Linked DNA regions of Homo sapiens: regions 2, 3, 4, 5, 6 and 7 are each linked to region 1. Evidence: promoter capture Hi-C in human tissues and cell types (Jung and others, 2019). All regions are on one chromosome and are shown on one strand. The core of a region is centred on a gene start or on the middle of the fragment in contact, and the rest is flanking DNA. Distances in the headings are between cores, read along the strand shown. Region 1 holds the start of CEP19 (centrosomal protein 19). Region 2 overlaps PIGZ (phosphatidylinositol glycan anchor biosynthesis class Z (Gwada blood group)). Region 3 overlaps SENP5 (SUMO specific peptidase 5). Region 4 has its middle 11 kb from the start of SMCO1. Region 5 has its middle 19 kb from the start of WDR53. Region 6 overlaps SENP5 (SUMO specific peptidase 5). Region 7 overlaps FBXO45 (F-box protein 45).

Region 1 (3,862 bases), core at 455-2,954:
AAAAAGATGGAGGCAGGTGTGGTGGCTCAGGCCTGTAATCCCAACACTTTGGGAGGCCAAGGAGAGGAGATACCTTGAGGCCAGGAGTTTGAGACCAGCCTGGGCAACACAGCGAGACCATGCATGTCTCTACAAAAAATTTAAAAATTGGCCAGGCATGGCAGCATGCACCTGTAGTCCCAGCCACACCAAAGGCCAAGGTGGGAGAATCGCCTGAACCCAGGAGTTTGGGGCTGCAGTGAGTTGAGATGGTGCCACTGCACAACAGCCTCTCCAAAGCATGATACGCCTATTCTTAAAAAAAAAAAAAAAAAAAAAAAAAACTACTTTAAAAAATTACTGTGCTCTACCTCTAATCTGATGCAATGAGCTCACACCATTTCTCCTTCTTTTCCTTCTCTTTTCTTGCTTTTTTTTTTTTTTTAACGAATACTATTCCCAATTCACCTAACTAAAATTTGATGTTAGTAAACTACAACCTACGGGGCACATATAAACTCCACACACTGAAGCAATGGCTGTACTCGTCAAAGATGTATGCAGTTGGTACTCAAATAATGTAGTTTTTTTTTTACTAGACTCTTTTTAAAATTTAACTTTAATTTTTGCTAAAGTAATGTTTGTATTTGGAATATAAAATAATTCTATGAGGCTTATAACAACAAACTATCGTCCTTGGCCCTACTCCTCTTCATAGGGAGCCAGACTGAATTTTAAAAGGCATATCTTCCAAAATTTCTCTCTCCATTTCTTAAGAAACATGCTTATACTACCATTTTCAGTTTTTTTTTTTCTTTTGAAACAGAGTCTCCCTCTGTCGCCTAGGCTGCAGTGCAGTGGCGTGATCTCCCCTCGCTGCAACCTCCGCCTCCTGGGTTCAAGCGATTCTCGTGCCTCAGCCTCCCGAGTAGCTGGAATTACAGGTGCCTACCACCATGCCCAGCTAATCTTTGTATTTTCAGTAGAGACGGGGTTTCGCCATCTTGGCCAGGCTGGTCTCGAACTCCTGACCTCAGGTGATTCGCCCAAAGTGCTGGGGCTATAGGCGTGAGCCACCTGCCCGGCTATTTTCAGTTTTGGATAGTATGTTTTGACATACACTCTGTTTCCTCTTTGAGACACCCGCTCTAGAGCCCTCTATTCCACTCCAAGCCGCCTGGATGCTCTCTTGGCCTGCTTACAGATTCCACTCTGTTTAGGAAGAAGGACGGCACGTTTATCCAATTATTCTTCCTGGACACGAATACTCCTCTCCCCAGAGATCAGTAACTGCCCACAATCTTGTTAGGAAGCCCCACAGCACCTAAGGGTACGAATGTCCCCAAAGAGTAGACGATTCTCTCCCTACTCACGTCTCCACTAGTGCAAGGCTGGCTTTCTTACCCTTAGAGGAATACAGAAATGACATCGTCTGCAGGCCAACGTCTAAACAACCAGGAGTGGGTTTTTCCACCCAACCGCAGTGCACGCAAAGCCCCTAAGCCGACTGTGAGACCGGGCGGAGCCTGGCGCTGCAGGAAGAGGCGACAGCCACAGCCCTACTGACGAGCCCGAGGGGTGAACTCCCCGGCGGGAGGCCCGAACCCTCAAACACCGGGAAGCGGAGGTGGGGGCCGGCTGGGGGACCGGTCCACCGGCTCCCACCTCGGCGTACAGGGATTCCAGGTCCCGGCGAGCGCTGGCCTAGCGGTTTCCACAGCGACAGGCCGGGCGCGCGTCCCCGCGCGTGCGCAGCTCCTCGCCCGCCCCCGGGTGGGCGGAGCAAGGAACAGCTGGGCGGGGACGACCGCCCCACGCCGCGCGGGAACCCTTGGGGGCCGGGGCTGCAGGCAGCTGGGAACCGCGGGCGCTAGGCGCGCGCACCCAGCACTCGGTCCCAGCCGATAAATCTGGGGCAGCGCGCGGTAGGAGCTGCGGGCGGCCAGGCCCCTTCCTGCGTCCGCACCTGGCCCCGCGCGCCCCTCTCGGGCGTCCGGCTTCCGGCGTCCTGGCGGCTCGGGTGGCGGCGGTTCGGGCGGCCGCCTGGCTGCTCCTCGGGGCGGCGACCGGGCTCACGCGCGGGCCCGCCGCGGCCTTCACCGCCGCGCGCTCTGACGCCGGTAAGGGGGGCGGGGCTTGGGGGGCCAGAGCGTGGGAGCGGTCCCGGCTCCCGGGCCTCTCGGCGGGTTGCGGGGATGTGGGGACCCGGCGCGGGACCTAGATCAGTAGGGCGAGCCGGAGGAGGTCAGACACTAGAGCCGTGTGCCCTCCTTCCCTCCCGTGCGCTTTGCTCTGCGGCGGATCCCGGGTCTCCGGGAGAGTCGGGCTCGGGCCCTGCGGTTCCCAGGCTGGACTGGCCGCCCTGTTACTAAAGTTCTGAGAAGGAAAGTCAGCCGTCAAGCGTCTTGGGATGCTCTTGAGCTGCACGAAGCTTCTGATCACCAAGGGGCCAGGCAAGGCCTTAGCGCCCTGTGAGGCCTGAGAATCCCCAAACTGAATGTAGGACTCCGTGGCAAACTGCTAGTTGTTCGTGCAAGTAGTAGTTGGCAAACTGCTTGTACTACTGAGACGGGCAAGTGCGGGAATAATTACAATAAAGGGTAAGGTTTGATGGGAGGAAAGCACAAACCCTACAAGTTTCTCCATCTGTAAAATGAGGATGTTTCTGTCATCCTTGGTATCATTTAGATCCGTTTAGTATCTGTCAATCAGTGCAGTTCTGCTTGTGTGTTTACATATTGGGTTTTCAAGTTTATCTAAACAAAGGATTATGAGGCCAAGAAGATTTTTTTTTTGAGATGGAGTCTCACTCTGTTGCCAGGCTGGAGTGCAATGGCGCGATCTCGGCTCACTGCAACCTCCGCCTTTCCCAAGTTCAAGCAATTCTTCTGCTTCAGCCTCCCAAGTAGCTGGGATTATTACAGGTGCCCGCCACCATGCCCAGCTAATTTTTTGTATTTTTAGTAGAGACGGGGTTTCGCCGTATTGGTCAAGCTGGTCTTGAACTCCTGACCTCAGGTGGTCCACCCTCCTCAGCCTCCCAAAGTGCCAGGATTACAGGTGTGAACTACCATGCTCGGCCAGAAGAATTTTTAAACAGTTGGATTTGGTAATCTGTAGAGGCTTCCAACGTTAGCATTTTATAATTGAAAAGGGGTCAAAATTAGCGGGGCGTGATGGCGTGCCCCTGTAGTCCCAGCTACTCAGGGGGCTAAGGCAGGAGAATCGCTTGAACTAGGGAGGCGGAGGTTGCAGTGAGCCGAGATCGCGCCATTGCACTCCAGCCTGGGTGACAGAGGGAGACTCTGTCTCAAAAAAAAAAAAAAAAAGGAAAAAGAAGTCAATTTCCAGAGCCAGTTCACCACTACCAAAGTAATAGTTAAGAGGAAAAATGTTGAAGGTAAATTCACATTCAACAAATTCGTTTTAAAAATGGTACTTTTGCCTTTAAAATCATGACATTCTAGTATTTGCTGTACTATTTGTAAATTAGCCTTTCTCCGGTCCCAATGATCAACTGCTGTCTGGTGTACATACCAGTAGAATTTAAGCCTGTTCATAATTTTTCTTCTAATTTAATTTATAGTTGGATAGCAGTCCTCACTTCCCACCCTACCCCCATTAAAATTAAACAGGATGAAGAAAGATCTGGATTTGTGCTGGGCACAGTGGCTCACACCTGAAATTCTAACACATTGGGAGGCTGAGGTGGAAGGATTGCTTGAGGCCAAGAGTTCAAGACCAGCCTGGAAAACATAGCAAGACCCTGTCTCTGCAAAAAAATTTAAAAGTAGCCAGGTGTGGTGGCGTGGGCCTATAATCCTAGCTACTTGGGAGGCCGATGTGGGAGGATTGCTTGAGCTCAGAAGTTCAAGGCTGCAGT
Region 2 (3,862 bases), core at 1-2,500, 240 kb after region 1:
AGGAAGCCGTTGACTGCCAGGTGAGTGAGCCGCGCGTGCGTGCCATGTCTCGCCAGGTTTTGGGGATTCAGGTTGTAGTGCAAGAAGTTGACAGGTGTCAGGACAAGGTTCCTGGATGTAGCGGGGCTGGAGAAATACCAGCTGTCCGTGGCCACAAACACCGCTGCTGTGAGGGCTGCCCCAGGGAGCAGCACCAGGGCCTCCCGGGTCAGAGACTTCAAACCAGGGTTTGTGGCTCCACGAGTGCCCCAGAGGTAGAGGGGGACCACAGCAAAGGCCAGAAAGGTGGGCCGGTTGAAGAAGCCAGCAGCCACAATGCCTCCAAGAAGCCAGCTGCGCCACCGTGGACCCGGCGCCGGCTCCTTGCGTGTAGGGCCCCACGTTACATGGGAGGATACCAGCACCAGCAGCCACGTGAAGAGGAGTCCCTCAATGGTGTTGGAGAAGGTCCTTGTGTAGAAGACCAGGGTGACGTAGGAACCAGACAGCAGGGCCAGGGCGTTCCAGCGATCCGCCCCCATCGGCGGGGCCAGGTGGTACACGGCCCCGTCCAGAGCAAAGGAAAGGGCAGTGAGGAGGAGTCGAGGCCCCACCAGCAGCGCATAGCCGCTCACCAGGCCAGGCCACGGCCCCAGCTCCTCCCAGAGCCTGAGCAGCCAGAAGGTGGAACCAGAGATCAGCAGGGGGAAGAGCACCGAGCGGCAGGAGCTGCTGGGGTAAAACTCCCAGGGCCGCGCGGCCTGAACGCCCAGGATGTCCTCTGCAGAGAGAGGCAGAGGTGAGCCAGTACCAAGCTCAGGGATGTAGTGGGCAAAATTCTAGGAGGGCACCCCACATTTCCCACCCCTTGGTGTGTGTGCCCTGCGTAATCCCTGGGACTGTGCACGGGCTGGATTTTTCCTCCCTTCCCTCCCTCTCTCCCTCCTTCTTTCCCTTCCTTCCCTTCCTTCCTTCCCTTCCTTCCCCTTCCTTCCCTTCCCCTCCCCTCCCTTCCCTTCCTTCCCTTTACTTCCCTTCCTTCCCCTCCCCTCCCTTCCTTCCCTTCCCCTCCCCTCCCTTCCCTTCCTTCCCTTTACTTCTCTTTCCCTCCCCTCCCTTCCCTTCCTTCCCTTCCTTCCTTCCCTTCCCTTCCTTCCCCTTCCTTCGCTTCGTTCATCTCTGTCACCCAGGCTGGAGTGCGGTGGCGAGATCACAGCTCTCGCTATGTTACTCAGGCTGATCTCAGACTCCTGGCTTCAATCCATTCTTCCAGCACAGCCTCCTAATGTGCTGGGATTACAGGTTTGAGCCACTGCACCTGGCCCGCAGGATGGACTGTATCCTGAGATTAGGTTACTTATACAGGAGCACTGACTGTAAAATAGGGAGACTATGCAGTGGGCCGGACCTAATCACAACAATCTTTTAATAACAGAGTTTTCACCAGCTGGACGCAGAAGTGGCAGTGAGATTCAAAGCATGAGAAGGATTTGACATGCCACTGCTGGCTTCAAGACGGAAGAGGCCATTGGCTAGGAATGTGGGTGGCCTCTGAAAGCTAAGAGCAAGGAAGCCGCACCATAGGTTCCACAGCTGAAATGAACTAGATTCTGCTAGAATTAGAGAGCTTCCAGACAAGAACTCAGCCCAGTCCATACGCTGATGTCCACCTTGTGAGCAGAGAGCCCGTGCTGCCCTTCTGATGGACAGAACTGTGAACTCACAGACGGGTGCAGTTTGAGCTGCTCGTAGGATTTTGAGGATTTGTCAGGAGCAGCAGAAGCAAGTGCAGGGGAGCTCAGAGTGCAGAGGGCAGGAGGGGCTTCCCCGGGAGATGAGGTGGCAGTGTGTCCTGGGAAGAGTGTGTGGGAGGCGGGCAGGTGGGGGAGGCCTAACCTCTTCTCAGGGTTCCAAGATCTCAAAAGCCAAGGACAAGCACCCTTGTCCTTACACCTGTCAAGCTTGACAGAGCCGCATCTCTGATAATGATTGTTATCAGGAGATGGGGGGAGAGAAGAGGGGTAGGTGATGAGCCATCAGGGTTATGTCAGAGGTGATTTATGTTAGTTTTGTTTACAATACTTAAATTTTTTTTTTTTTAGACAGAGTCTCACTCTGTCACGCATGCTAGAGTCCAGTGGCGCTATCTTGGCTCACTGCAACCTCTGCCTCTGGGGTTCAAGTGATTCTCCTGCCTCAGCCTCCAAGTAGCTGGGACTACAGGCGCCCGCCACTGTGCCTGGCTGATTTTTGTATTTTCAGTAGAGATGGGGTTTCGCCATGTTGGCCAGGATGGTCTTGAACCCCTGACCTCAGGTGATCCACCCGCCTCAGCCTCCTGAAGTGCTGGGATTACAGGCGTGAGCCACTGCACCCTGCCTATGATACTTAAATTTTTTGTAAGAAGAATATATCCAAGTAGTACTTACATAATTTAAGAAATACTTGCTGCCTGTTCTGTAACCCTGTGCCCCAACGTCCCAGAGCTCTGAGGGGTGGGGGCGCGGGAGCAGCTCCACTCCAAGCCTCATTGTTCACAGCGTCTCTTGCTTGATCACCTGCTGGCTGTTTCGAGCTGATCATACAGCCTGCGGATCATTCGGGCTCTTTGATTCTGCTACTTATTTCTCCAGACTTTCAGCTGTTTTATCTATCTATGTTAGATGTTGAAAGGGAAGCAAAATCCAGGATCAAATCTATCTGGCTGCTTTTCTGGTTAAAAAACGACGTGAGGGAAAGAAGATGAGCCTTTTAACTTAAAAAACAAATTCACCTGTTGAGCCCTGTGGCAAAGAAAGCTGATGCCTCCAAAATATCTATTCCCTCCTCCTTCATTAGACTTTTTTTTTTCTTTTTTTGAGATGGAGTCTCGCTCTGTTGCCCAGGCTGAAGTGCAGTGGCACAATCTTGGCTCACTACAACCTCCACCTCCTGGGTTCAAGCAATTCTCCTGCCTCAGCCTCCCAAGTAGCTGGGATTACAGGCGCCTGCCACCATGCCAGGCTAATGTTTTGTATTTTTAATAGAGATGGGGTTTCATCATTTTGGCCAGACTGGTCTCAAACTCCTGACCTCAGGTGATCCACCTGCCTCAGCCTCCCAGAGTGCTGGGATTACAGGCGTGAGCCACTGCATCTGACTCCTTTGACTCTTTTTCTGGGCACTTGGTCAGATATAAAGACTATAATTTTTAGCTTCCTTTGCAGCTAGGTGTGGCCTCATGATACATTCTGCCCAGTGTGATAGAAATGAGCAAAAAGCATGCGCCCTTCAAAATATGACCTTAAAGAGAGAAGTAATGCCCTTCTCCTTTGTTGGCTGGAAAGACTGCCTGTAGGCTTGATGGCTGGAGCTCAAGCAGCCGTCTTGAACTATGAGGATGACCCCACATGCCCATCACATCTGAAAGGCCTCAAGGCCTTTGGGCGAGACGGTATGGGCCAGGCAACCAGCCTCATGATGTGTCCCACACCGCCTAACAGATGAGTGAGTGTCCCAGGTCTGGGTTCCCTTACCCCTCTCTTGAATCTACAGAAGAGAAGTTTCATGATCTCAGATCACAGCCCTATGGAAGCTCTTGCCAAACACTGGGGAAGCCTAACTCTAATAAAAGTGTTCCCATGGGAAGTCCAACACAGCTCTCATTCTGAATGACCTGTATTGTTGGTCCAAGCAGGGATACATCAAAGAGACTGGTGGTTTATTAGCATTACCCAGAAGGTCAGTGTCACCACTCGGGAAGGAGATATGAAGTCCCCACTTCCAAGTTCTTACCCCAGAGAGAGAGGCTGCTGCTCTGCTTGTGGATTTACTACTCATCTACCCAGACATGCTACTCCCTCCCCACAAAGTCTCCCGTCAGCTTCTCAAGCAGACTCTGCTG
Region 3 (3,862 bases), core at 897-3,396, 220 kb after region 1:
ACAGCAGAGACTACAAGAGCTTTATTCACTAGTGTCCCCAGCACTTGAACCCTTAGAGATGCTCAGTACATTTTGAGTGCCGGTGACCATTTTTAAGGACAAATCCTTTTTGCCTGTATTTTACTTAAGAATGTACATATACTGGCCGGGCAGGGTGGCTCACGCCTGTGATCCCAGCACTTTGGGAGGCTGAGGCGGGCGGATCAGAAGGTCAAGAGATAGAGACCAGCCTGGCCAACATGGTGAAACCCCGTCTCTATTAAAAATACAAAAATTAGCTGGGCATGGTGGTGCACGCCTGTAGTCCCAGCTACTCGGGAGGCTGAGGCAGGAGAATCGCTTGAACCTGGGAGGTGGAGGTTGCAGCGAGCCGAGATCGCACCACTACACTCTAGCCTGGGTAACAGAGCAAGACTCCGTCTCAAAAAAAAAAAAAAAAGAATTTATATATACTGCTTATTCTGAGAACTTGAAGTTACTTCTTTAGAGGGAGCAGTGCAACATGCTGTCATACTTTGTTGGATATTAAGTATTTGCTTTCATCATGTTTTTTCTTCTGAAGAGGTGGCTTCCAGTCCACCTTTTTTTTTTTTTTTTTGAGTCAGAGTCTCACTCTGTCCCCTGGGTTGGAGTGCAGTGGCCCAGTCTTGGCTCATGGCAACCTCCGCCTCCTGGGTTCAAGCGATTCTCATGTCTCAGCCTCTGGAGTAGCTGGGATTACAGGTGTGCACCACCACACCTGGCTAATTTTTGTATTTTTAGTAGAAATGGGGTTTCACCATGTTGGTCAGGCTGATCTTGAACTCCTGACCTCACCTCATGTGATCCACCTGCCTCAGCCACCCAAAGTGCTGGGATTACAGGTGTGAGCCACCGCGTCTGGCCCTGGTCCACTTTTGTTGGGGGGTGGGGTGGGTTATTCACATAACCTCTGACTTCACTCTTGATGTGGAGAGAGACGCACAGAGGTTGAGAGCACTGGGGACATTTTGAAACTCCAGCAGGCTTCATCTTGGTAGATAGTTCAACAGTGGACTTGAGCATATTTAGTATTCAGAAGGAATTTTAGTATTACTTTCCAGAAGCTGAATGTTAACCTTTTCTGCAGCCCTCAAAAATAAGGAGTGTATCAGAATATCTAAGGCTGGAATATTTTTCATTTAGTTTTAGTTATTAATGATGTCTGCCATGGGTTCCTTTCCTCTGTTGAGCATGGGCAATGATGAAGACTTTCTTTTTGACTTGCCAGTATGTAAGTTTCAAATGCAGCAAGCTGACTTACTGCTGGGAAGGGCTGGCTAACCATCTCATAAAACGTTCTGATTACACAAATGCCAGCGTCCACAGTCTTGATGCATACCTTGAATACAGAAGGTCTGACTCCCCCTTAACAATATGAAATGAAGAGTCTGAAATAAAGTCCCGGCTTTAGCCGGGAGCGGTGGTGTACACCTATAGTCCCAGCTACTTGGAAGGCTGAGGTAGGAGGATCTCTGAAGCCTAGGAGTTCAAGGCTGCAGTGAGCTATGATCACGCCATTGTACTCCAGCCTGGGTGACAGAGCAAGATCCTCTCTTTAAAAAAAAAAAAAAAAAAAATTGTTCCAGCTTCTTAATGCATATTCTGCCCAGTTATGGGGCCACAGCCTCCTCCTTTCCTTCTGTCTGCTATGGGCATGTTCCATTTTTCACCAACTGATGGAACACAGCATCTGTGTTGTGGTTTCTTTTTAACCAGAATATAAGAAAGTATTTGCTGACTGAAGCCAGAGAAAAAAATAGACCTGAATTTCTTCAGGGTTGGCAGACTGCTGTTACGAAGGTAAGTATGTGATAACAATGAAACCCAGGCATGTCCAGGGGATGGAATTATCTAAGGGTGGGTGCCTTTAAGAGCATTTGAAGACTAGTGACAGAGATACCAAGGAGAGCCTGGAGGCTCCAGGGAGGCAGCTGAGAATGAACTTCAGTTGACTATTCATCATCGCTGCTCAGTTGCCCAGTGCTTCCCGGGAGCAAATCACTTCAGTCATTTCCTCCCTGAGGAAGTTGCTAATGATGTGTTTGCTCTTCTGGGGAAAAAAAAAATCTTTTTTGGGTGGCACTTGCCTCTTGCATCATGGCTCTTATTTCCAGATGACCCATATAGACCCAGAGAAATGCTGAAATGACTATTTGGATCCACTGAGGGGGAGAAAGTGCATTGAGCTACTTGGCAGGCATGTGGGGAAGATAGTAGCCCAAGCGCTTCAGTCCCACCACTGTCTGGATGCAGCACCATGCTTGGCCCATGACATTCAAACTGTGGGGCAGAGTGCCCAGGCACAGCCGCTCATTCCTGTCGTAAATACCAGTGTCTTCATTGATGGTGGGCTGTGTTGTTTCCAGTGTTTTTGTGTATTGGATCTCATTTGATCCTTATAACCTGTGAGGTAGGCAGGTCATTTAGGGATAAGCATCGTCTTTATTTTGTAAATGAGAAAACTGAAGCCCAGGTGTGATTTTCCCCAAAGGACATCAAAACTATTGATACAGAGTCAGGTCCTTGAACACAGGTCTGTCTGGATCATTGACAGGATGTTATAGGCAGGATCTTGAAACAAACCTTTAACCCAAACCCAAAGAGACAAGATTTATTAGTTCACCCTTGAACCGAACCAAATGCTAAATTTTAAAATTAAGCTTAAGTTTTGTGTTTTGAATAACCTAGTATACCAGTTCAAACCAGAACTAGTAAATTTCCTGAATTTACCCAACTAAAAAATCTGGGTATTCTAAATTTAGTCAGGATCTTCTGTATTACCGCTTTGAGCAGAATACAGTAACCAGTTCTTTTAAAAACATACTGTTGGCCGGGCACAGTGGCTCACACCTGTAATCCCAGCACTTTGGGAGGCAAAGGTGCGTGGATTGCGTGAGTCTAGGAGTTCAAGACCAGCCTGGGCAACATGGTGAGACCTCATCTCTACAAATAATAAAATTAGCCAGGCGTAGTCCCAGCTACTTGGGATGCTGAGGTGGGAGGATTGCTTGAACTCAGGAGACTGAGATCGTGCCACTGCACTCCAGCCTGGGCGACAGAGTGAGACCCTGTCGCGAAAAACCCAAAACAAAAACCATACTGTTTACCTTCACGATTTCTTTCAAAGAATAGGACAGGGTCGTGTGATGTGAGATCAGAAGTGAAGACTGCTCAGCGGAGTTGTCGCCATCCTAGCATCCAGAGGCTGGGCCTTTGTTCTCCCAGGCACAGTTCCATTTTGACTCCACTGTCAATGAATTGATAGCAGAGCTCAGTATCCAAATGCATGTTTTAAAACAGGTTTTTACATTTGATTTCCCATTTCTCATATTTAGGTAAAACATTGTCCTATAAATTGGGGTTGCCACCTGATAGCTCTTTTTATGTGGCCAGGTGCCTCCATAAAATTAGATGCTTGAGATATCAGATATACCAGCTGTCCTGGAGAGAGAAAAGTTTCCTATCTTTTGCGCATTTTTCCATAAAGGAGTTTTTCTTATCTGAAGAGAAGTAATGGATCTTGTTTTAATGACTATTTTGTTTTTCCCTTCAGTGTATTCCACAACAGAAAAACGACAGTGACTGTGGAGTCTTTGTGCTCCAGGTAAAGAAACACTTGCTTTTCGGAACTTACAATGTGTGAATTGAGTCTGTTGGGTTGAGAGGGGAGAGATGGCAGTTCCTGTATGTGTATATGATGCTAGGTACGAGCAACGGAGTACTTTCCCTCCCCTTTATTGCTGAGGAGCAGTAGTTTCTGCATGTTCAGATGTTATCATTAGGAAGAACCACCTTCCAGGGATCAAGAGTGAAGTGTGGGTGTCATCCATGTCTCACTGGA
Region 4 (3,862 bases), core at 946-3,445, 190 kb before region 1:
CCTTTGAGCCATTGCCTCAGTAGCCCTACTGGTCCCAGAAGCCCCCAAATTAACCCTGGGAAATGATTTAACTGTTTACACCCCACATAACATGGCAGGACTACTGTACTCTAGGGGGAGCCTTTGGCTAACAAACAGTCGACTCCTTAACTATCAGGCCCTGCTGTTAGAGGGTTCCAACATCCAATTAAAAACTTGTGCAGTGGCTCACGCCTGTAATCCCAGCACTTTAGGGGGCCGAGGTGGGTGGATCATGAGGTCAGGAGTTCAAGATCAGCCTGGCCAACATAGTGAAACCCCATCTCTACTAAATACATAAAAATTAGCCAGGCATGGTGGTGGTGCATGCCTGTAGTCCCAGCTACTCGGGAGGCTGAGGCAGGAAAATCACTTGAACCCAGGAGGTGGAGGTTGCATTGAGCTGAGATTGTGCCACTGCACTCCAGCCTGGCGACAGAGTGAGACTCCGTCTCAAAAAAAACAAAAACAAAACCAAAAACAAAAAAATTGTTCTCGCCTAAATCCAGCCACTTTCCTCCCCAAGGAAACTAGGGAACCTGAACATGACTGTGAACAAGTCCTGATACAGACCTATGCAGCCAGGGAAGATCTCAGGGAAACCGCTAGAGAACCCACACTGGACCCTCTTCACAGATGGGAGCTCTTTTGTAGAACAAGGAATCCATAAGGCAGGATATGCAGTAGTCACTCTAAATGACGTCATTGAAAGTGTGTCTCTCCGTCCAAGCACTCAATTAGCTGAGCTGATAGCTCTTACTCGAGCACTAGAATTAAGCAAAGGAAAGGTAGCTAACATTTGCACTGACTCCAAGTATGCTTTCTTGGTTCTTCATGCTCATGCTGCCATCTAAGCTTTCTTTTAAATATTTTCAGTATGTCCAAGAGAAAACACCTGCTTCCGTTTATTTAGCGGTAATAACCTATATGGACTTAAAAATTTTTTTTGTACAGATGAGGTTTCACCATGTTGCCCAGGCTGGTCTTCAGACTCCCAAAGTGCTGCGATTACAGGCGTGAGCCACTGCACCCGGCCAACATTTTCTTTTTTAGAAACAGGGTCTCACTCTGTTGCCCAGGCTGGAGTGCAGTGGCATGATCACGGCATACTGCAGCCTCGACCTCGTGGGCTCAAGTGATTCTCCTTCCTTAGCCTCCCAAGTAGCTGGGACTACAGGTATGCACCACCACGCCCAGCTAATTTTTTTTTGTTTTAATTTTTATGTACAGACAGGCATCTTACTATGTTGTCCTGGCTGGTCTCCAATTCCTGGGCTCAAGTGATTCACCCGCCTTGGCCTCCCAAAGTGTTGGGATTACAGACATGAGCCACCACACCTGGGTTATTGTTGGATTTACTGAAGAAAAGGGGCAGGAGAAAAAAGTTAAATTACGACAAATCTCTAGGTCAATTAGAAGCCATATCTCTGGGATATTTTAAAAAATCAGTCTTACCGCTTCCGACTCTAAAAGTTAATGCCATTAGTAACAACAGCAGGAAAAATAAACCTGATAAAAACCAGCCCATTCATTTTAGCAAAAAAGCAGTTTAACTCAAAATACTTAGACCAAAGTATAACACTACGTACCCAAGGTGCCCCACCCACCAGCAAGAAGAGAAGAAATAATTGCTTTAAAAATCAAAATATGCGGCCAGGCGCCGTGGCTCACCCCTGTAGTCTCAGCACTTTGGGAGGCCAAGGCAGGCAGATTACCTGAGGTCGGGAGTTCAAGACTAGCCTGGCCAACATGGTGAAACCCTCTTTCTACTAAAAACACAAAAATTAGCCGGGCGTGGTGGCGCGTGCCTGTAGTCCCAGCTACCTCGGGAGGCTAAGGCAGGAGAATCGCCTAAACTCAGGAGACGGAGCTTGCAATGAGCCGAGATCCGCCACTGCACTCCAGCCTGGGCGACAGAGCAAGACTCTGTCTCCAAAATAATAATAATAATAATAAATATGCTCAGCATTTCTTCCAGAGATAGCAACGGTGCTACTCCTGAGAGTGCTCGGAAGGACTAAAGCTGGAGTGAAGATAATGTCTAGGGATTGGTATCCCACAAAGGCTTTCAAAGCCCAAGGTACCACAAGCACACTAAACTCGTCTATGAATTAGAAAACAAGATATCACTGCTGCTTCTTTCTGTCTTTTGAAATGTACAATATTTTGTAGGCTCTGCCCTTCGATGTGAAAGCAGGACTAAGAAAAAACAACTAAGAGGGCCAGGCTCGGTGGCTCACGCCTGTAATCCCAGCACTTTGGGAGGCCGAGGCAGGCGGATCATGAAGTCAAGAAATCAAGACCATCTGGCCAACATGGTGAAACCCTGTCTCTACTAAGAAAATACCAAAATTAGCCGGACGTGGTGGCAGGCGCCTGTAGTCCCAGCTACTCAGGAGGCTGAAGCAGGAGAATCATTTGAACCCAGAAGGCGGAGGTTGCAGTGAGCTGAGATCTCGCCATTGCATTCCAGCCTGGGCAACAGTGTGAGACTCCGTCTCCAAAAAAAAAAAATAGAGACAGAGTCTTGCTATGTTGCCCAGGCTGGTCTCCAACTCCAAGCTAAGAAATGTGAAATTATTTGACACCTAAATTTTTAGAACCATTTATCTTAACTGTGAAATTAAACAGATCTACCTTCTCCTGCCTTCAGTCAAACCACCTCACAAAAATAAGAGAACTGAAACAATCCAAACATGATCTTTTTTTTTTTTTTTTTTTTTTTTTTTTTTTTGAGATGGAGTCTTGCTCTGTGGCCCAGGCTGGAGTGCAGTGGCACGATCTCGGCTCACTGCAACCTCTGCCTCCCAGGTTCAAGCGATTCCCCTGTCTCAGGCTCCTGAGTAGCTTGGGACTACAGGCACACGCCACCACGCCTGGCTAATTTTTGTATTTTTAGTACAGATGGGGTTTCACCATGTTGGCCAGGCTCGTCTGGAACTCCTGACCTCAAGTGATCCACCCACCTTGGCCTCCCAAAGTGCTGGGATTACAGGAGTGAGTCACTGCGCCTGGCCCAAACATGATCATTTTTAAAGTCCTTGAAAGTATTAAAACTTTGAAAAGAAAAGAAAGAAGGAAAAACAAAAACATGGCAGTGCAGGAAAGCTTTACAAGAAAGAGGGGGTGAAAATCAATGGGCTTGTCTTTTTTTGTCAACAAGCAAGTGCAAGAAGGTTCATTTTGTGACTTGTTCAGTTGTGTTTTGCATATCTCCATTCTGATCGGAAGGGACTTTGAGGTTTTTCTGCAACTCCTGAGCATCTGCAGGCTCCATCCTCTTATCCTTTATCTGTCTTTGTCTCAGTCATCTCAAAGCCAAACTTCTGTAGAAGTCAATTGCTGACTCATTGCTGATCTGGACAAACAGATGTTGTCAAAAGTGCCATCTTGGCTGGGCAGTGGCTTATGCCTGTAATCCCAGCACTTTGGGAGGCTGAAGTAGGCAGATCCCTAGAGTACAGGAGTTCGAAACTAGCCTGGCCAATATGGTGAAACCCCGTCTCTACTAAAAACACAAAAATTAGCCAGGCGCGGTGGCTCCCATCTGTAACCCCAGCACTTTGGGAGGCCAAGGCGGGCGGATGTCCTGAGGTCGGGAGTTCAAGACCTGCCAGGCCAGCATGGTGAAACCCCGTCTCTACTAAAAATACAAAAATTAGCCGGGCGTGGTAGCACATGCCTCTAATCTCAGCTACTCGGGAGGCTGAGGCAGGAGAATCACTTGAACCCGGGAGGTGGACGTTGCAGTGAGCCGAGATCGCGCCACTGTACTCCAGCCTGGGTGACAGAGCGAGACTCCATCTCAAAAAAAAAAAAAAAAAAAAAAAAAAAAAAAAAAAAA
Region 5 (3,862 bases), core at 948-3,447, 160 kb before region 1:
CCTCAATTTATTAAAAACCATTGACTTGGCCAGCGTCTCTACTAAAAATACAAAAATTAGCTGGGCATGGTGGCGGGCAAGTGTAATCCCAGCTACTTGGGAGGCTGAGGCAGGAGAATGGCTTGAACCTGGGAGGCAGAGGTTGCAGTGAGCCGAGATCATGCCACTGCACTCCAGCCTGGCAACAGACTGAGACACGGTCTAAAAAAAAAAAAAAAACACCACTGACTTTTATACTTTATTTCTTCTGTGAACTTTGTAGAGAAGTAGATTTGTATACTTTAAGTGGATAAATTGTACGGCATGTGAACTATACCTCAATAAGGCAGTTTTTAAAATCCAAAAATATGTAATTGTTGAATTTAAGTTTGTTCCGGCTGGGCATGGTTGCTCATGCCTGTAAGAGCACTTGGGGAGGCTGTTATATTCTTGTTTCCACTAGTAATATAAGGGGGAGTTTCCCTGTACAAGCTCTCTCTTTGCCTGCTGCCATCCATTTAAGATGTGACTTGCTCCTCCTTGCCTTCCACCATGATTGTGAGGCCTCCCAGCCATGTGGAACTGTACATCTATTAAATCCTTTTTCCTGCATAAATTACCAAGTCTTGGGTATGTCTTTATCAGCAGCATGAAAACGAACTAATACAGTAAATTGGTACCAGTAGAGTGGTATTGAAAAGATACCTGAAAATGTGGAAGCGACTTTGGAACTGGGTAACAGGCAGAGGTTGGAACAGTTTGGGGAGCTCAGAAGAAGACAGGAAAATGTGGAAAAGTTTGGAATTCCCTAGAGACTTGTTGAATGGCTTTGACCAACATGCTTATAATGATATGGACAATGAAATCGAGGCTGAAGTGGTTGCAGATGAAGATGAGGAACTCGTTGGGAACTGGAGTAAAGGTGACTCTTGCTATGTTTTAGCAAAGAGAATGGTGGCATTTTGCCCCTGCCTTAGAGCTCTGTGGAACTTTGAACTTGAGAGAGATGATTTAGGGTATCTGGCAGAAGAAATTTCTAAGCAGCAAAGCATTAAAGAGGTAATTTTGGTGCTGTTAAAAGCATTCAGGTTTTTTTTTTTTTTTTTGATATGGAGTCTTGCTCTGTCGCCCAGGCTGGAGTGCAGTGGTGCGATCTCAGCTCACTGCAAGCTCCACCTCCAGGGTTCATGCCATTCTCCTGCCTCAGCCTCCTGAGTAGCTGGGACTACAGGCGCCCACCACCATGCCCAGCTAATTTTGTTTTTGTATTTTTAGTAGAGACAGGGTTTCACCGTGTTAGCCAGGATGGTCTCCATCTCCTGATCTTGTGATCTGCCTGCCCCGGCCTCCCAAAGTGCTGGGTTTACAGGTATGAGCCACCACACCCAGCCAGCATTCAGTTTTAAAAGGGAAACAGAATAAAAATTTGGAAAATTTGCAGCCTGACAATGCAATAGAAAAGAAAATCCCATTTTCTGAGGAGAAATTCAAGCCAGCTGCAGAAACTTGCATAAGTTAAGAAGAAGCCAAATGTTAATCCACAAGACAATGGGGAAAATGTCTCCAGGGCATGTCAGAAGTCTTCATGGCAACCCTTCCCATCACAGGTCCTAAGGCCTAGGAGGAAAAAATGGTTTAGTGGGTCAGGCCCAGGGTCCCCCTGCTGTGTGCAGCCTAGGGACTTGGTGCCGTGTCACAGCCAATCCAGCCATGGCTAAAAGGGGCCAACATAGAGCTTGGGCTGTGGCTTCAGAGAGTGCAAGCCCAAAGCCTTGGCAGCTTCCACATAGTGTTGAGCCTGTGAGTGCACAGAAGTCAAGAACTGGGGTTTGGGAAACTCTGCCTAGATTTCAGAAGATGTATGGACACACCTGGATGTCCAGGCAGAAGTTTGCTGCAGGGGTGGGGCCCTCATGGAGAACCTCTGCTAGGGCAGTGTGGAAGGGAAATGTGGGGTAGGAGTCTCCACACAGAGTCCCTACAGGGGCACCTTCAGGTGGAGCTGTGAGAAGAGGGCCACCATCCTCCAGACCCCAAAATGGTAGCTTCACTGATAGCTTGCATCATTCACCTGGAAAAGCCACAGATACTCAACACCAGCCTGTGAAAGCAGCTGGGAGGCTGCACCCTGCAAAGCACACAGGGGCAGAGCTGCCCAAGACCATGGGAACCCACCTCTTGCACCAGTGTGACCTGGATGTGAGACAGAGAGTCAAAACAGATCACTCTGGAGTTTTAAGATTTGACTGCCCTGCTGGATTTTGGACTTGTATGGGGACTGTAGCCCCTTTGTTTTGGCCAATTTTTCCCATTTTGAACAGCTGTATTTACCCAATGCCTGTACCCCCATTGTATCTAGGAAGTAACTAACTTGCTTTTGATTTTACAGGCTTATAGAGGAAGGGACTTGCCTTGTCTCAGGTGAGACTTTGGACTGTGGATTTTTGAGTTAATGCTGAAATAAGACTTTGGGGGACTGTTGGGAAAGCATGATTGGGTTTGAAATGTGAGGACATGAGATTTGGGAGGGGCTGAGGGTGAAATGATATGGTTTGGCTGTGTCTTTACCCAAATTTCATCTTGAATTCCCACATGTTGTAGGAGGGACCCAGTGGGAGGTAATTAAATCATGGGGACAGGTCTTTCCCATGCTGTTTTCATGATAGTGAATTAAGTCTCACAAGATCTGATGGTTCTATAAGGGGGAGTTTCCCTGCACAAGCTCTCTCTCGGGTTGCCTGCCGCCATCCATGTAAGACATGACTTGCTCCTCCTTGCCTTGCACCATGATTGTAAGGCCTCCCTAACCACGTGGATCTGTAAGTCCATTAAACTTTTTTCCTGTATAAATTATCCAGACTCAGGTATGTCTTTATCAGCAGCATGAAAACAGACTAATACAAAGTGTCAAGGTACCTCACTTTCAAATAGTTCAGCAAACAAGACACACACACATACATACATACAAAACATATGTGCTGTGCATTACTGTTTTTCACTAATTCTTTCCTTGTAAATAGGAAAATTGTGGTCAAGGGAGAGCTGGTCATAGGCTGATGGCACCAGAACTACACGATTCTGCCAGAATGTGACTGATTAATCCTGAAAAGTATTTCTGCCCTTGGCAAGGAGTGGTTGGGTGGCCCTGTATCAGCCTCAAGTTTGTGCATCCAGGACCACAAACTGATTGTAATTTGGAGAGGGTACATGAAATGTGAAATAATTTGGTAGGCCAGGGTGGGCGGATCACCTGAGGTCAAGAGTTCAAGACCAGCCTGGCCAACATGGTGAAACCCCATCTCTATTAAAAATACAAAAATTGGCCAGGCGCAGTGGCTCATACCTGCAATCCCAACACTTTGGGAGTCCGAGGTGGGTGGATTACTTGAGGTCAGGAGTTCAAGACAAGCCTGGCCAACATGGTGAAACCCCATCTCTACTAAAAATACAAATTAGCTGGGCATGGTGGCGGGCACCTGTAATCCCAGCTACTCGGGAGGCTGAGGCACGAGAACTGCTTGAACCTGGGAGATGGAGGTTGCAGTGAGCCGAGATGGTGCCACTGCATTCCAGCCTGGGTGACAGAGTACAACTCCATCTTGAAAACAACAACAAAAAAAATTAGCCAGGTGTAGTGGCAAACCCATGTAATCCCAGCTATTCAAGAGGCTGAGGCACGAGAATTGCTTGAACCCAGGAGGCAGAGTTTGCAGTGAGCCAAGATCATGCCATTGCCCTCCAGCCTGGGTGACAGTAAGACTGTCTCAAAAAAAAAAAAAAAAAAGAAAAAAGAAATGTGAAATGAGCATGTTTAGGTGTCTGTGAGTTCAGCATTGGTTAGGAGAATGTGTAGCCCTGATAGCTGGCGTTAAAAATAATCTGA
Region 6 (3,862 bases), core at 532-3,031, 170 kb after region 1:
GAAATAACTTCAAATTTACCGAAAAAAATTGCAAAATATTACAGTTTTTCTATATGCTTCACCTAGCTTTGCTCCGAAGTTTTGTTTCAGTTTTTTTTGTTTGTTTGAAGACATGGTCTCACTCTGTTGCCCAGGCTGGAGTGCAGTGGCGTGATCTCGGCTCACTGCAACTTCTGCCTCCTGGGTTCAAGTGATTCTCCTGCCTCAGCCTCCCGAGTAGCTGGGATTACAGGTTCATGCCACCGTGCCTGGCTAATTTTTGTATTTTTGGTAGAGACAGGGTTTCTCTATGTTGGCCAGGCTGGTCTTGAACTCCTGACCTTAGTTGATCCACCCACCTCAGCCTCCCAAAGTGCTGGGATCACAGGCATGAGCCACTGTGCCCAACCTTACTTCAGTTTTTTTAAGGAGACAGAGTCTTGCTATGTTGCCCAGGCTGATCTTGAACTCTTGGGCTCAAACAATCCTTCTGTCTCCGCCTCCCACGTAGGTGGGTCTACAGGTGTGCACCACTGTACCTGGCCTCTCCAATGTTATAGAACTGCAGCACATTGTCAAGGCCAGGCAATTAACGTTGAGAGAATACTGCTAACTGATCTGCACACCTTATTCCAATTTTGTCAGTTGTCACATGACTTTTCTTTTTCTGAACTGAGACTCAATCCAGGATTATACCTTGTTTAATTGTCGTCTCCTTAATCTCAGTCTTTCATTCTAGGACAGTCTGTCTTTGTCTTTCAGGACTTTGACTGATGTGATTGAAGAGTATTAGCCAGTTATTCTTTTTTTTTTTTTTTTTTTTGAGACGGAGTTTTGCTTTTGTACCCCAGGCTGGAGTGCAATGGCGTGATTTCGGCTCACTGTCACCTGCGCCTCCTGGGTTCAAGCAATTCTCCTGCCTCAGTCTCCCGAGTAGCTGGATTACAGGTATGTGCCACCGTGCCCGGCTAATGTTTGTATTTTTAGTAGAGACAGGGTTTCACCGTGTTGGCCAGACTGGTCTCGAACTCGCGACCTCAGGTGATCTGCCCACCTCGGCCTCCCAAAGTGTTGGGATTACAGGCATGAGCCACCGCGCCTGGCCCTTTTCCTTTTTTATTTTTTTTTTGAGATAGGACATCACTCTGTTGCCCAGGCTAGAGTGCCATGGTGCAATCTCAGCTCACTGCAACCACAAACTCCTGGGCTCAGTTGATCCACCCACCTCAGCCTTCTGAGTAGCTGGGACCACAGGCACATGCCACCACACTTGGCTAATTTTTATATTTCTTTGTAGAGATGGGGTTTCATCATGTTGCCCAGAGTGGTCTCAAACTCCTGGGCTCAAACAGTCCACCCATCTCAGCCTCCCAAAGTGTGAGATTGTAGGCTGAGCCACAGTTCCCTGCTGGTTGTTTTTAATATTTTGCTATTATAAACAATGCTGCAATGAATAGCCTTGTACATGTGTATATTTGTATTATTGTAGGCATGTCTTCAGGTAAATTCCTTAAAGTGGGGTTGCTGGATTAAAAGGTAAATACTTTTGTAGTTATTAAATGTTACCAGATTACCCTCCAAAAAGATTGGATCAATTTGTAGTCCTCCTAACAAAGTGTGGAAAGGCCCTTCTTCCCCACCAAGAGAATGTGTTATAATTTTTGCCAATTGTCTTATAAATGAATTTGGACATCTTTCTTAAGCTTAAGGAACATTTAAAAAGCTTTATTTGTAAATTGTCTCCTTATGTATTTTTCCTATTTTCCATTAGGCTTTTTTTCAGTTATCTCTTAATTTAAGAGGTCTATATATTAGGGATATTAGGCCTTTATGATACATGTTGCAAATATTTTTTTCTAATTTATCAGCTGTCTTTTCATTTTGTTCATTTATTATTTTTTTTAACTTCCAAGCTTAATTGAGTTTTTAATTTCTGCTATTATTTTTAATTTTCAAGACCCCTTTCTTGTTTTTGGCCATTCCTTTAGAAAAAGAATAACACCCTGTTCTTTTTTTTCAATGGATGTAATATTTGCTTTTGCTTCTTTGAGATAGTATTAGTTTTTTTTTTTTTTTTTTGAGACAGTCTTGGTCTGTCACCCAGGCTGGAGTGCAGTGGCTCAATTTTGGCTCACTGCAGCCTTCAGAACTCCCAGGTTCAAGCAATTCTCGTGTCTCAGCCTCCCGAGTAGCTGGGATTACAAGCACGTGCCACCACACCTGGCTAATTTTTTTGTATTTTTAGTAGGGTTGGGGTTTTACCTTGTTGGCCAGGTTGGTCTCGAACTCCTGACCTCAAGTGATCCGCCTGTCTTGGCCTCCCAAAGTGCTGGGATTATAGGTGTGAGCCACCACACTCAGCCCCCTCTTTTTTTTTAATTGTGGTAAAATATACATAACATAAAATTTACTATTTTGACCATTTTTAGGTGTACAGTTCATTGGCATTAAAGTACATTCGCATTGCTGTGCAACCATCACCACCATTCATCTCCAGGAACCTTTTTATCTTCCCAAACTGAAATTCTGTACCCATTAAGCAATAACTCCCTTTTCTCCCCCTCCCTGTTGGTTTATAAAAGTTGACTTTATATAGTTTTTGCTTTTATCTGTTTGTTTTGGTCTGTTTTTATCCCTAGACATCTGGTGATTCTTGGTCATCCTTTATTTTTTATTTTATTTTTTTGAGACAGAGTCTTGCTCTGTCGCCCAGGCTAGACTGCAGTGGTGCGATCTCAGTTCACCACAACCTCTGCCTCCCAGGTTCAGGCAATTCCTGTGCCTCAGCCTCCCAAGTAGCTGGGATTACAGGCATGCACCACCATGCCCAGCTAATTTTTGTATTTTTAATAGAGATGGGGTTTTGCCATGTTGGCCAGGCTGGTCTCGAACTCCTGACCTCAAGTGCTCTGCCCACCTTGGCCTCCCGAAGTATTGGGATTACAGGCGTGAGCCACCATGCCCAGCCCGTCTAGTTGTTTTTAATAATGACCACTAAGAAACTGCTTGGGAACTCTTAACACATGGTGGAATGTGTCAACTTTGGGGTACACTGTGGGCCATTTTGTGGGGTAATATCTGTATCTTTATGGATTTTTTTTTTTTTTTTGGTGGACTAGTTATAGTCTCCAGAAAAGAATCTTCAGTCTGCTTGTATGGGTGAGACAGACTGCTAGCATTCTGGGAGATGAGTGGCAAAGTGTGTTCGGAGTCTCATATGCAGTATATAATTCCATCTTCAAATTATGCCTGGAGTCCCTGTGTCTGCAGACTTTCCATTTTACTCTTTTTTGCATTTTACATTTCACTATTTTATCTAAAGGATAAACTTCCAATCTTGGGTGGGGGAGGGTCACTTACCTGCCATGTGGAGTTAAGTAGGGATCTGGAGTCTAACTGCTTCTTAAACTTTAGGCCACCCTATTGAGTCATTGTTCAGACTTATTTTGTTGTGACATCCCCAAATATCACTATCTGTTGGTTTTTTCTCCGTGAATGATCTGTTTTCCCCCAGGGACTAGTCGCCTTCTTGTGGGTATAGAGCTTCTTGCCAGTCTTATGGAAGCTGAGTGGGGAAGGGCCTGGAGGGGAATTCACGGTGTAAACTCATTTATCCTCCTGGTATACCCCTGTGCTCAGCTGTACATGATATACTGGACTATCCTGGGTCATCCTCCTCAGAAAGTGAAACTTTCATCATCTGCCACGGTAGGAGATGGTATCTAGGAGTTTCACTGCTTCTTATTCAGACTTTGAGCCAGCGTTTCCTTTTCAACACCACCCATACTCCTGACTTTCATAGGTATATGTTGCCTCTGCTTCTGAGCCTTTCTGCTTTCTGAGGTCCTATAGCTGCTGCTTTTTTTTTTGGAGACAGAGCTTC
Region 7 (3,862 bases), core at 381-2,880, 130 kb before region 1:
TAATGTTAGGGGGTTATAGTTAATTTTGTTGGGTGTTATATTTTGATTTTGGCTATGCAGAAAAATATTCTTTTTTTTTTTTTAGACAGAATCTCACTCCGTTGCCCAGGCTAGAGTGCAGTGGCGCCAACTCGGCTCACTGCAACCTGCACCTCCCAGGTTCAAGCAATTCTCTGCCTCAGCCTCAGTAGTTGGGATTACAGGCGCCCACCACCATGCCTGGCTAATTTTTGTATTTTTAGTAGAGACAGGGTTTCACCATCTTGGCCAGGCTGGTCTTGAACTCCTAACCTCGTGATTCACCTGCCTTGGCCTCCCAAAGTGCTGGGATTACAGGCGTGAGCCACCATGCCCAGCCTCAAGGAGATTTTTTGACCATTTTTAAATAAATGTATAAATGATCTATCTCAATATTTGTTTCCTAATACAACTTTAAGCAGCCTATTTTTGCTCCAGATCAGGGGTTGGCAAACTTTTTGTAAGGGCCACGTAGTAAATCTTTAAGTCTTTGCAGTCCATATGGTCTCTGTCACAACTTTTTTTTTTTAATGTCATTTTCAAGGTAAGGATCTATCACGAGTTTCAACTCTATTTATAGTACAAAAGCAGTCATCGATAATACGTAAATGAACGAACATGGCTGTATTCCATAGACCTTATTTATGGGCTGCAGGACAGATTTGGTCCAGGGGCTGTAGTTTGCCAGTTCATGCTCTATATCAAGCTTGTCCAACCCACAGCCTGCATGCAGCCCAAGATGGCTTTGATTGTGACCCAATGCAAATTCATAAACTTTCTTAAAACATTATGAGATTTTTTTGCAATTTTTTTTTTTAAAGCTGATTAGCTATCTTTAGTGTTAGTGTATTTTATGTGTGGCCCAAAACAATTCTTCCAGTGTGGCCCAGGGAAGCCAAAGGATTGAATACCCCTGCTCTAGATGGTCATCTTTCCTGTATCACGGCACATCCAAATCTTTTTCTAGGCTCCTTACCCCAGTAAATACAGCTCTGTGCATGCACATGTTTGTGGATTCAAAGCCCCTGGAGGCATCAGTGAGTTCTGCAGAGACAGGCAAATTCAGGCAAACTGCTGTATTTTTTATTCTTTTCATCTTAGGCTTAAGGCATACTCATTTGACTCAAGTTAAAATTATAGTTCCTATTTGTAAAAGCCGTATTTATTACTACAGACTTAACAGGGTGTAATATACAATAATCTGATAAGAAATTGGAAGTCTTTAAAGAACTATAGATTGCATATTTCAGAGCCACCTGTGGCGTGAAAGTTCCAGCCTCAGTAATGACCTCAAGTCAGGCATACTAAAGCAGAAGAACCAAAAATACATCCCATTTTCTGAGGTATAAAAGCTGGAAGGATTTTTTTCATGGAATGTTTCCTCACTATCCTTTTAGGCTCTGCGGATACTATAAGGAGAAGGGTGTGTAGACTTTATCACTAAAAACGAAGTCCTGTCGCCACCCTTGTAATGATTTTGTAAGTGAAAGTCCTTAAGTCTGTTTTTCAGAGAACATGCTCTATGGTTTTAGTCCTTTTAAATTTATTGAGATTTGTTTTATTCTAATATGTGGTCTGTCTGGATGAGTGTCCCATGTGTGCTTGAAAAAATGTATATTCTTTTGCTGAATGGAATATTCTGTAAATGAGAATTAGGCAAAGTCGATTGATAATGTTCAAGTCTTACATAGTGTTACTGATTTTTTTCTACCCTTCTATTATTTACTAAGAGGAGTATTGAAATCTCCATCTATCCTTGCTAATTTGTCTTTCTTCTTTTAGTTCTCTCAGTGTTTGCTTCATGTATTTTGGAGCTCTGTTACTACTGGTGCATATACATTTCTAATTGTTTTATCTCCCTGCCTGATTTATTCTTTTATTATGAAATGACTTCCTTTGACTCTAGTAATCCTCTGTCAATCTGTCTTTGTATTTAAAGTGGAGCTCCTACACAGCACATAGTTGGATCTTGATTTTTATCTAACCCAGTCTCTGTCTCTGACTTTTTTTTTTTGAGACGGAGTTTTACTCTTGTTGCCCAGGCTGGAAGTGCAATGGCGCAATCTCGGCTCACCGCAACCTCCACCTCCCAGGTTCAAGTGATTCTCCTGCCTCAGCCTCCCGAGTAGCTGGGATTAGAGGCATGCGCCTCTAAACCACGCCCGGCTAATTTAATTTTATATTTTTTTAGTAGAGAAGGGGTTTCTTTTTTTTTTTTTTCTCCTTTTGAGACAGAGTTTCACTCTTGTTGCCCATGCTGGAGTGCAATGGCATGATCTCAGCTCACCGCAACCTCTGCCTCCCGGGTCCCGGTTCAAGCAGTTCTCCTACCTCAGCCTCTTGGGTAGCTGGGATTACAGGCATGCGCCACCACACCCAGCTAATTTTTGTATTTTTAGTAGAGACGGGGTTTCACCACGTTGGCCAGGCTGGTCTCGAACTCCTGACCTCGTGATCCGCCTGCCTCAGCCTCCCAAAGTGCTCGGATTACAGGCATGAGCCACCATGCCTGGCGAGACGGGGTTTCTCCATGTTGGTCAGGCTGGTCTCGAACTCCCAACCTCAAGTGATCCACCTGCCTTGGCCTCCCAGTTGCTGGGATTACAGGTTGTGAGCCACTGCGCCCAGCTTCGGTCTCTGACTTTTAAGTGTTTAGTTCATTTACCTTTAATGTAAGTGTTGGATTGCTTGATGTTGTCCTTATCTCTGCCTCTAAAACTATGTTCTTGTTTTTTCCCCCAACCTTGTTTCTCTCTAATCTTTGCATTAGATAATTTCTTTTCCTTTTTTTTTTTGAGATAGGGTCTCGCTCTGACACCTCGGCTGGAGTGGTGCAGTGGTGCAGTGGCGTGATGATCTTGGCTCACTGAAACCTCTGCCTCCCAGGCTCAAGTGATCATCCCACCTCAGCCTCCAGAGTAGCTGGGACTACAGGTGCTCCCCACCAATGCCTGGCTAATATTTGTATTTTTTGTAGAGACAGGGTTTTGCCATTTTGCCCAGGCTGGTTTCAAACTCCTGAGCTCAAGCAGCTGCCTGCCTCAGTCTCCCAAAGTGCTGGGATTATAGGCATGAACCACTGGGCTTGACCTAAATTAGATAATTTCTGTTCTGTCTTCAAGGTTATAAATTTTTTTCTTTTGCCATCTCACCTCTGCTATTGAACTGGGCTAGTAAATTTTGCTTATTGTACACTTCAGCTTTAGAATTTCCTTTTTTTTCTTTTTCCTTTTTTTTTTTTTTTTTTTTTTTTTTTTGAGACAGTCTCACTCTGTCGTCAGGCTGGAGTGCAGTGGCACGATCTGGGCTCACTGCAGCCACCGACTCCCGGGTTCAAGTGATTCTTCTGCCTCAGCCTCCTGAGTAGCTGGGACTACAGGTGTGTGCCACCATGCCCAGCTAATTTTTGTATTTTTAGTAGAGATGAGGTTTCACCATGTTGGCCAGGATGGTCTCGATCTCTTGACCTCGTGATCCGCCCGCCTCGGCCTCCCAAAGTGAAAGTACTGGGATTACAGGCGTGAGCCACCACACTGGGCCTGGTTCTTTTTTAGAGTAAATTTCCTTTTCGAGATTCCTTATTTATTTACTTATACTATATTTGTAAAAAAATCTTTGGACATATTCATAACAGCTGCTTTGAAGTCTTTACCAAATCCAACACTTAGGACCACTTGGATTCAGCTTCTGTTGATTGCTTTTTTCCCCTAAATATGAATCACGCTTTCCTGTTTCTTTTCATATCTAGTAATTTTTTTAACTGAAACCTAGATGTGTAGATAATATGTAGTAGTAACTCCTGAATGTTTTGTTTCTAGAAACTGCTTTATTCTCTGAAAAGTAT

What was found. The method cuts DNA at HindIII sites, captures the fragments that hold promoters and counts their contacts. A contact is called where the count stands out against the background at its distance.
Region 2: a contact is called between a fragment that was not itself captured here and the fragment with the promoter of CEP19 in region 1, in 2 of the 25 tissues and cell types used here (dorsolateral prefrontal cortex and lymphoblastoid cells).
Region 3: a contact is called between a fragment that was not itself captured here and the fragment with the promoter of CEP19 in region 1, in 2 of the 25 tissues and cell types used here (IMR-90 fibroblasts and dorsolateral prefrontal cortex).
Region 4: a contact is called between a fragment that was not itself captured here and the fragment with the promoter of CEP19 in region 1, in 1 of the 25 tissues and cell types used here (lymphoblastoid cells).
Region 5: a contact is called between a fragment that was not itself captured here and the fragment with the promoter of CEP19 in region 1, in 1 of the 25 tissues and cell types used here (lymphoblastoid cells).
Region 6: a contact is called between a fragment that was not itself captured here and the fragment with the promoter of CEP19 in region 1, in 1 of the 25 tissues and cell types used here (liver).
Region 7: a contact is called between a fragment that was not itself captured here and the fragment with the promoter of CEP19 in region 1, in 1 of the 25 tissues and cell types used here (spleen).

What each region holds. Positions count from the first base shown.
Region 1 is chr3:196,710,546-196,714,407 of GRCh38, forward strand. It overlaps CEP19 (centrosomal protein 19), which reads right to left and starts at 1,705. Exons shown (of 3, transcript NM_032898.5): 1 at 1,384-1,705. It overlaps PIGX (phosphatidylinositol glycan anchor biosynthesis class X), which reads left to right and starts at 1,832. Exons shown (of 6, transcript NM_017861.4): 1 at 1,832-2,099. The coding sequence starts at 1,988. RefSeq lists silencers at 1,455-1,767, 1,602-2,231. The HindIII fragment of the contact is 13,108 bases long and covers 1-3,862 here.
Region 2 is chr3:196,947,926-196,951,787 of GRCh38, forward strand. It overlaps PIGZ (phosphatidylinositol glycan anchor biosynthesis class Z (Gwada blood group)), which reads right to left. Exons shown (of 3, transcript NM_025163.4): 3 at 1-760. Among named protein-coding and RNA genes, the nearest start is that of NCBP2AS2, 7.2 kb to the left of the region's middle. RefSeq lists an enhancer at 159-906 and a silencer at 3,433-3,727. The HindIII fragment of the contact is 5,138 bases long and covers 1-3,819 here.
Region 3 is chr3:196,926,059-196,929,920 of GRCh38, forward strand. It overlaps SENP5 (SUMO specific peptidase 5), which reads left to right. Exons shown (of 10, transcript NM_152699.5): 8 at 1,738-1,821; 9 at 3,575-3,625. Among named protein-coding and RNA genes, the nearest start is that of NCBP2-AS1, 12 kb to the right of the region's middle. The HindIII fragment of the contact is 3,553 bases long and covers 371-3,862 here.
Region 4 is chr3:196,524,621-196,528,482 of GRCh38, forward strand. It overlaps the pseudogene NAA50P2. Among named protein-coding and RNA genes, the nearest start is that of SMCO1, 11 kb to the left of the region's middle. RefSeq lists an enhancer at 3,298-3,367. The HindIII fragment of the contact is 4,673 bases long and covers 1-3,862 here.
Region 5 is chr3:196,547,650-196,551,511 of GRCh38, forward strand. No RefSeq gene overlaps it. Among named protein-coding and RNA genes, the nearest start is that of WDR53, 19 kb to the right of the region's middle. The HindIII fragment of the contact is 5,845 bases long and covers 1-3,862 here.
Region 6 is chr3:196,879,857-196,883,718 of GRCh38, forward strand. The region is part of intron 1 of SENP5 (SUMO specific peptidase 5); the gene reads left to right. Among named protein-coding and RNA genes, the nearest start is that of SENP5, 14 kb to the left of the region's middle. The HindIII fragment of the contact is 5,535 bases long and covers 1-3,862 here.
Region 7 is chr3:196,577,977-196,581,838 of GRCh38, forward strand. All of the region lies in intron 2 of FBXO45 (F-box protein 45), which reads left to right. Among named protein-coding and RNA genes, the nearest start is that of FBXO45, 11 kb to the left of the region's middle. The HindIII fragment of the contact is 3,487 bases long and covers 1-3,374 here.